3 separate regions of the Homo sapiens genome follow, and all the other regions are linked to region 3. Evidence: promoter capture Hi-C in 16 types of primary human blood cells and fetal thymus (Javierre and others, 2016). All regions are on one chromosome and are shown on one strand. The core of a region is centred on a gene start or on the middle of the fragment in contact, and the rest is flanking DNA. Distances in the headings are between cores, read along the strand shown.

Region 1 (2,796 bases), core at 187-2,686, 240 kb after region 3:
ATAGAAAAGGGATATGCAGTACTTAAATAAGCATTTGATTCATATAATAAAATAATGCAGTGTGGAGTCTAAGGTCCTTTTTTGGTCGAATCTTCATGTGCACAGAAAGGGGACCCGCCTTGACAACAGTCACCAGCATCAGGTAATTGTGAGACTCTCAACTGTGGTAGGCAATTGGTGAGATAATGTAAAAGCACCTTGTAAATGCTAGTGCTAAACATTAGATAGTATTATCTGCCTCTGTTGCCTCTTTCTTAGAGACCAGGAAATAGTGCACAAAGCAGGAATACTATTCTCTGTTCCTCTTTTTCATATAGTTCCCTCTCGGTCTGATCCTTTTAAGAACTTTGTCATTTGCTCATTTTGGCTTTGGCTTCCCATGCCTACTGATTCTTTTTAGCCCCACTTTATTGCTGAAAAGGAGAAACAGTAGCTCTGAAAAAACTCTCTAATGATAAATGATAGGAGAAGCTTAAAACTATGGATCATTTAGCAGAGGGCAGGCTTCAGGCAGTTGATTCTCAATTATGGAATAATTGTATTTACCACCTATCGAGCACTTACATGTTTCAGGCATTGTACTAAGAGCTTCACAGGCATTATCTTATTTATTCCTTACATTTATCCCGTAAGGTGGGTATTACCTCCATCTAAAGACATTGGGGCATCCAGGCAGAGATGTAAAGTATGTAGACAGATATAAAAATCTACAGCTCAGGAAAAAATGTAGATTGGAGATAAGGATTTAGAAGTCATTAGCATATAGATGGTAGTTTTAAGTATAGATAAAATTGTTCATAGACTATAAGAATTCCAGATGGAATTCTGAAAGCATCATTTAAGATATGAATGAAGAGGCAGTCTAGGAAGGAGCGTGAGAAGAGCTCCAGCAAGGTAGGAAAATCAGGAGAGAACATGGAATAGATAAAAACACAGCAGAGCTTTTCAAGAAAGAGGGTATGATCAGCATCTTAAATATTGTAAAGAAGTTATGCAAGATAATTAATGAAATGTATCCCTTAGATTTGTATCCTTTAATTGGAATTGAAAATTGAAGGTCAATTTACCTTAAACAATTTTAGTAGAATAATGGGGCCAAAAGCCAGACTAGAGTGTGTTAAGCAACAAACGTGAAGAGAGGAGAAAATTACAAATGTTGACTAATTTTCAGTGAGCCTATTCGTGGAGCATAGGAGAGAGAGTGACAGCTTCAGGGGAATGCAGACTAGAGGGACTGATGCTGATTGGTTAGTGGTTTTTTGAGAAATTTAAGCATATTTACTAGGGGAAAAATGTCTATGGAAACTAAAAAAACTACAGTGACTATTAGTACCTCAATAAAGAAGACTATTGGAATTTTCCCTGCTTTTTAAGTGAAATTGACCTGGGAGTATTTAAATTTGCCTTAAATCATATGGTTGTTTTTATTATAATTTTTCCTTATGTACACAAGTAGTGGGTAATTATTGTGAAAAAACTTCAGACTTTACAGGAGTTCATAAATTAGAAAATAAAAGTCTTTATAACATCAGTGATAACTATTAGCAATTTGATATATGGTATATATTTTTTTCCCTCTGCATATACCGTTACCTATGTGTGAGCACATGTTGTTCTGTAACTTTTTTAACTTAACAGTGTAGTCAACTGATAATTCAATAATGGAAGTAAAGGTAAAAATAAACTAAGCCTACAGAGATTTTTACATCTTTGCTATTTAATATGTGATGAACCTCCATATTCAGGAATTTTATTTACAAACACCTTATCTATTCTTTGTCCTTCCTCTTTAGAGTGGATGTAACTGAAATTCAGATAGCTTTAGTGATTGTCTTTGTGTTGTCTGCATTTGGAGGAGCAACAATGTGGGACTATACGGTAAATCTGAATATTTAAATTTATATTTAAGTACTTTTCAAATATTTAGGAAAAAGTATTGCATTGTTAATTTTCTTCAAAAATCCTTGGCATTGTATTTAATTTTTTTTTTTTAATTGGTGTATTTAATATTTGTTCCATTTCTTAACATTTTTTTCTTCATTTTATAATGTGTATTATCCTATATACCTTATGGCATTTCCTCCTATGCTTGAGTATATTGCCACATAGAAGAAGACAACCTCATTTCCCTAATACTAAATAAAACAAAAACAACAACAAAAAACACACATTGGAATAACTTTTTCCAGGGTGAAATAAAATAAATATTTTAAAAATAAATCCAGTAAAATGTTTTACATTTAAAACTTGTCACTCAATATTAGGAAAGTAGTTAATTTGCATTTTTATAATCTACTTTGAGGTGAAGATTCCCATATTAAGGAATGTTTTTATTTTCTGCCTGCTTGGTGACCTCAGTAGTTTCATAAAAGTTGGCTCTTAGGAGGCCACTGTCATAAATTCAAGCTTTTTTGCAAAAGAAGAACATTTCTGAAGAAACAGTTGTCCTGTTACCACAACGTAAGTCCACCATACTGGCTAACTGACTCACACTTTCTGCTCATAGTGTTAAGAATAATAATAATAAGGATATCAATAGTCAACAACTAACAGTCATTCAATACTTATGTTCCTAAACATTCACCATCTGCCCCTCAGTTTTATCTGCCCCTCAGAACAATCCTATAAAATAGATATTATTAGTATTATGCTTTATAAATAAGTCTTAGGGTGATTAAGTAATTTGTCCAAGGACACATGAGAAGTGCTGGAGCTAGGAATTAAACAGACTGATTCCAGACTGTATGTAATCACTAAGCTATATATCTAGTAAAAATAGTAAGTGATACAAAACTA
Region 2 (2,700 bases), core at 28-2,527, 180 kb after region 3:
TCTCTCTCTCTCTTTCTCTCTCTCTCTCCCTCTCTTTCCTGCACTAAAGAAGTTAATCAGATAAAGGTCAAGTGTCTTTTCAGCTTGGGTCATATATAAACTAGATCTTTGGAGTCTTAGAAATACATTTTCCTTGTTTCCTTAGGATCCACAAGTTAGTGATAGCCAATGCCCTCACTGAAGATGAAGGTGATTATGTATTTGCACCTGATGCCTACAATGTTACTCTGCCTGCCAAAGTTCATGTTATTGGTGAGTAGATAAAATAATTCATTGCATAGTTGTGTTCTTTTTTGTTTGCTTTTGCTTACCATGGAATTATAATATATTCAAAACTAAGTGACATTTAAGGAAAAATACATCAATTGGTATTAATCACCAATCAGAAAGATTGGTGACTTATACCAACACCTTACAATAAAATGGTTTTGCAAGGTGCCAGGCACCAACTATCTTGACTCCTCTTATATTCTTTTTGATTAGATAAAATATTGGTTACTACCATCATACTAGCCAAACATTAGTGCAGATATTTACACAGAAATGACTGTCTGATAACAAAGACTATGCTTAATATTCTAGATCCTCCTAAGATCATCCTGGATGGTCTTGATGCTGACAACACAGTGACAGTGATTGCAGGAAACAAGCTTCGTCTTGAGATCCCCATCAGCGGAGAACCACCTCCTAAAGCCATGTGGAGCCGGGGAGATAAGGTTTGTTTTATGCTTGCACACACTCACATGCACACACACATATGCAGACACACTGCCTACCCCACCCCTTGCCCTCCATTATTCAGATGAAGGTAGAAAACAAATAAATGTACAGCAGTACAGTAAAGATGTAATTCCTTTGAAAAAGAAAGATGACTGATTTTCAGGCAAATCTGATCATCATTAATTTACTTCTCATATTTCTGACTATTATGTAGCAAAGCATGTTTTGATGCACAGTGAAAAAGCCTCATTTTTATTCTAATGAAATTGGGGGGATGAAAAAGAAAATGAATTATTAAATAAATAAATGAACAAAGTCACTTTGGATAGTAATAAGTACAAGAAGATAATAAAAGAGAATGATACAATAGCAAGTAACTGCATAGTCAATGGCAGCCTCTGTGAAGAACAAGGAACCCATTATGTGAAGATCAAACGGAAGACATTTCCATACGGAGGCAATTACAAGTGCAAAGGCCAAGGGGAGAGAATAAGCCTGATGTGTTGGAGGAACAGAAGGAAAGCCAGCATGGCTGGGGCAAAGTGAATGATTGGGAGAAATGCAAGTGAGGGTGAAATGGTAGAGTAGTGCCAGCTCAAGTGTGACTCCGTGGCTTTCTACAAAAATAAAAGCAAAAAAAGAAAAATTACATTTAAAAAGAAGACATGAGGCTGGGCATGGTGGCTCATGCCTGTAATCCCAGCACTTTGGGAGCTGGGGCAGGCAGAACACCTGAAGCCAGGAGTTCCAGACCAGCCTGAGCCTGCATGGAGAAACCCCATCTCTACTAAAAATACAAAAAAATTAGCCAAATATGGTGGCAGCATGCCTCTAATTCCAGCTACTCAGGAGGCTGAGGCACAAGAATTGCTGGAACCCGGGAGGCAGAGGTTGCAGTGAGCCGAGATCACGCCACTGCACTCCAGCTGGGTGACAGAGTGAGACTCTATCTCAAAACAAATTTTTTTAATGTTAAAAATAAAATTAAATAATAAAAAGCAGAATGAGACTTCTACTTTCAACCAGAATTGAATAACAGGAACCAGATTTACCTACTCACTTGAAATAACCCCCAAAATAGACAAAATATGTGAACAATGGGTTTCAAGACATTGGACATCAGATCGTGAAAGACAATGACTATGAAATATGATAAACAAATGAAATAAGCCCTATAATTGCCTCAAGCTTATTGCCATAAAAGAGTATCCAGGCAGTGGCACAAGGAAGAAAAACCTGGACAGAACCCAGTGGACTCCCTAAGTTTAGGACTCCCATTGTACAAGGAGACCAAGGCAGCTAGAGTTCATAGGATACATACTATACATACTGGAGGAGAGAGCTGCACAGAGAGTCCCCCTGGAGCTCTGCAGAGGAACACGCTCAAGTATTCAGCAAAGATCAGTGCACATTTATGAGGAAACTACCCAAGATTCAAGAAAGGAACATATGAAAGGATTAAAGAGAAGTGGACTGGCACTCACACAAGGCCAATAGTAGTGCCTGTTCCCCCTAGCTAGACATGAAAACCTCATCATTCACAGTGCATTGAGTAGAGTACTCAGGAAAGCCTTGCCTTGGTTGCAGGAATAATTAACCCTAGACTGAGCACTGTCATGGACCCACCTAATAAGTCATAAAAACAAGTCTAAAAGATTCAATCAATTTCCAAATAATTTAATTGCATTTCAAAACAAAGCTCAAGATTTATATAGGAATACAAAAATATCAAGCACCCAACATGACAAAATTAGCAATATCCTGCCATCCAGTCAAACATTATGGTAGAGAAATAAGCAGGAAAACACAGCTCAAAATGAGGAGAAAAGTCAGTTACAGCCAATTCAGATCTCACATGTAAATTAGAATAGCAGTCGAGCATATGAAAATAGTTATTTTAAGTGTATTCCATATGTTCAAAAAGTTAGGTGGAGAAATGTTAAGCTCTCCATTTAAATTAAATTTAAGAGAAATTTAATA
Region 3 (3,039 bases), core at 349-2,848:
GGAGGCACTCCATTTTTCTTGGGGGTTTCACTGTGCTGTCCAGGCTGGTCTCAAACTCCTGGCCTCAAGCCATCCTCCTGTGTAGCTGCTTAGCGGGGATATAGGCACCAGACACCCTGCCCGCCTGCTCACTCTTAAGTCTTCTTCTTGGGTTTCAGCTCACACCGCTTTCCTCCTCAGAGATTTTTCCTGGCTATTCGCACACTGTCTTCATAATCTTTCTCTTTTGTATTGTTGTTTTTGACACTTCTTATCTAATACTTTACCAATGTGTTTATTTTTTAAAAATCATTTCTTCTCATAAGGATTTGTTCAGGGCTGTAGCTCCTGGACATGGGGCAGTGCCCAGAAGAGTGAAGAGCTCAGTAATATGTTGAACGAATGAACCAAATAAGGTGGCTTGAAAAGGGTGTAGACTAGTACAGATTAAAAACAAATCAACATTAGTGATTACCGTTTTATACCTGTTATTATAAGATCTGCATATCAGAAGAAGGACTGTGTGTTAACATTTGCATAACAAATTGGCTCAAAAAAGTAATTGGTCCAAAACAATAGTCCCCTATCAAAGGTGAGGTTAGGCTCCAACAATGCAAAACTGAAGTTACTGGCAGCTTTGAAATCACAGACCCTCTTCACTCTCCCCACCCACAAGGTTTACAAAAAATTCTTAGGCGGTTTTCCCCCTGGCCAAAATGTGACAGCTATTAAAATGGCAGGTTTCAGGTTAGCCAAGTGAGAGGCAGACATGTGTTTCAGGGGACAGGAAGGTTATTTCCACCGTGTACAAGTGGATGCTGCTTTGGACACTGATGGACAGGTAACATAAAATGGGCGAATCTGCAGGGGGATGAACTGGGAGGAAAGTATTTTAGGTGGAGGGAGCGTCTCATAATTTCCAACAGAGCCACCCCAAATAAACCTTGAAGCCAAGTAAGAGAACGGGACCTGCATTAGGAATGCAGCAGCCTCAGGTATGTCCAACCACATGGCCCCCCATAAGGTTTTCCTAACCATTTTGGAGCCGCTACTGAATTTAGGTGTGGAGGAAAGCAAGAGCATGGATTCTATTATCCCCACTCAACTGAGTGGCAAGATATAAGGCTAAGGCTCAAGAGCCTTGAATGTCAGGACAAGGGCCCTAAGCCTTTAAGCTCTCTAAGGCGATCAGTGAATGGCAGTGTAAGTAAAGTAGTTTAGGAGGAAAGACCGATTTGGAGAGTCCAGAGTGAAGGCTGTTGACAGTCCAGGCAAGAAAGAGAGTATAGAGTCCAGAATTGGGAGAGAAGTAATATGAATTAAAAAAAGAAGGGTGGGCCTGAGTTGCCTGGGTTAGAAGTTTCCGGTGGGGCTATGCAATCTGAAGAGCTGCAACCTAAGTTGGGCGGGGGATTCATGGGGCTTGTTCTAATGCTTTTTTGCTTTTTGGCTGATGGGATGCAAACTACTATGTGCCTCTTCAAAATAATAGCCCCTGGTGTCTACTAATCATATCATGAAATAGAAATTGTGAAGGCACTGTATCTTTTAAAAAAAATCCCCTTTTGAAGAACTTCCTTAAAAACAGCTATTTAATGCAACTCTGCCAGTATGTTCTTGATGGTTATGTCTTAACAATTCTAATTTTTAAAAAAAATATTACTATTTTTTTTCATCAGAGCCATTGCACTGGAAAATAATTTTTTATTTTCATGATAGCCTACCGTTGAATTTACCGTTCTGATATTAATGAAACATCTCTATAAAGGGTTGAAGTGTCTTCCCGGTAAGTTCTCAGCTTATGTTTTTCTAAATATCTTCTAATCACTGTTCATTTTTTCCTTTGGCCTAATGAGTGTTTCTCACTGTCTGCGTGTTCAGATGCAAGAAATATTAAGCAATCATAGTAATCAATAATGTTTTCAAGCTTTTTCTTCCTTTTAGATTTGCTACTTGTAATAGCTGCGATAGTCTTGTGGAGCATTTTAGTCAAAGAGAACATGTTCATTTTTAAATATTTAATTCAAAATACAACATTCAGTGCTTCTGCACTTTTGAGTCAAAGCAGTTAATTGAAAATCACTGACATGGCTTTTAAAAAATATGTGCTACTGATAATATTCACTAAAGACCATGAGCCGAAGAGTGATTTCTGGATTTTCTTCTATTTTCTTTTAACTGACATGATGTAATGATTTCAAAGAGCCAAGCAGAATTTTGATATTTAATATGTTATGTTGATATATGATGGATATATATAATATTGGCATTAGATTACATCATCTCATTTTATTATTCAAAGTTAAACACTAAAGAGTAAACACATTGTGTTTGCGGGTAAATACTAAGAAGATAAATACTTGCATAAAAAGAACTGCTGGGTTTACTTAATGGAATGATAAGCAATTTTGGACCCACCACAGTTCTTTTTATTATGTGGGTTGGTTTTTGTTTGTTTGTTCCCTGTGTTGGTCTATAGAACGTAGAGTTAAAAGCATTTAATTGTGGGTCGGTGTGATAATTGTTTCTCTAAAGCAAAATCAGAATTACTTAGAGATAAGAAAGTAAATAACAAAATTATAGACGAGTTTTCTTAGCCTAGGATTCAAGCAAGTCCAAGGATAGTCTTCACAGGCTAAATTTTATTTGCAATATAAGTCCAATTTTCATGGGAGGAAAAGGATGGCTTTTGCCAGATTCTCAGAAGGCAATATAACACCAAAGAAAGGTTTTTTAAAAAAGCCCTATTTTTATAAAGCTATGCTAAGGTAAAAAGGATTTTGATTTTCAGAATTTTAGAATATTTAAAATAATTTTGAAATACTTATATATACTTTTGAGTTATTTCCACTTTCTCTTATCAATCAAGCAGCTCAGATAATTAAATATATAGCTATTTTAATATTTAAAGCATTTTGTAATCATGGAAAAGCAAAAAGAAATGTTTGTAGAAAATTTCGTAGAAAAAAATTTGTACTCATCAAAGAGAATTCAGGAGGTACTCTTGGTTTATGTAAGGTATTTTCAGAAAATATTTTTGAGCAAGATCTTATTCAGAAT

What was found. The method cuts DNA at HindIII sites, captures the fragments that hold promoters and counts their contacts. A CHiCAGO score of 5 or more calls a contact.
Region 1: a contact is called between a fragment that was not itself captured here and the fragment with the promoter of SPIC in region 3, in 1 of 17 cell types (M1 macrophages). The highest score is 6.1, in M1 macrophages.
Region 2: a fragment that was not itself captured here is called in contact with the fragment with the promoter of SPIC in region 3 in 1 of 17 cell types (M1 macrophages); the score reaches 5.4 in M1 macrophages.

Annotation. Positions count from the first base shown.
Region 1 is chr12:101,714,935-101,717,730 of GRCh38, forward strand. CHPT1 (choline phosphotransferase 1) reads left to right here. Exons shown (of 9, transcript NM_020244.3): 4 at 1,794-1,878. Among named protein-coding and RNA genes, the nearest start is that of CHPT1, 19 kb to the left of the region's middle. The HindIII fragment of the contact is 1,935 bases long and covers 470-2,404 here.
Region 2 is chr12:101,652,533-101,655,232 of GRCh38, forward strand. It overlaps MYBPC1 (myosin binding protein C1), which reads left to right. Exons shown (of 32, transcript NM_002465.4): 17 at 146-252; 18 at 583-716. Among named protein-coding and RNA genes, the nearest start is that of CHPT1, 44 kb to the right of the region's middle. The HindIII fragment of the contact is 1,258 bases long and covers 649-1,906 here.
Region 3 is chr12:101,473,738-101,476,776 of GRCh38, forward strand. It overlaps SPIC (Spi-C transcription factor), which reads left to right and starts at 1,599. Exons shown (of 6, transcript NM_152323.3): 1 at 1,599-1,765. RefSeq lists an enhancer at 244-939. The HindIII fragment of the contact is 10,024 bases long and covers 1-1,904 here.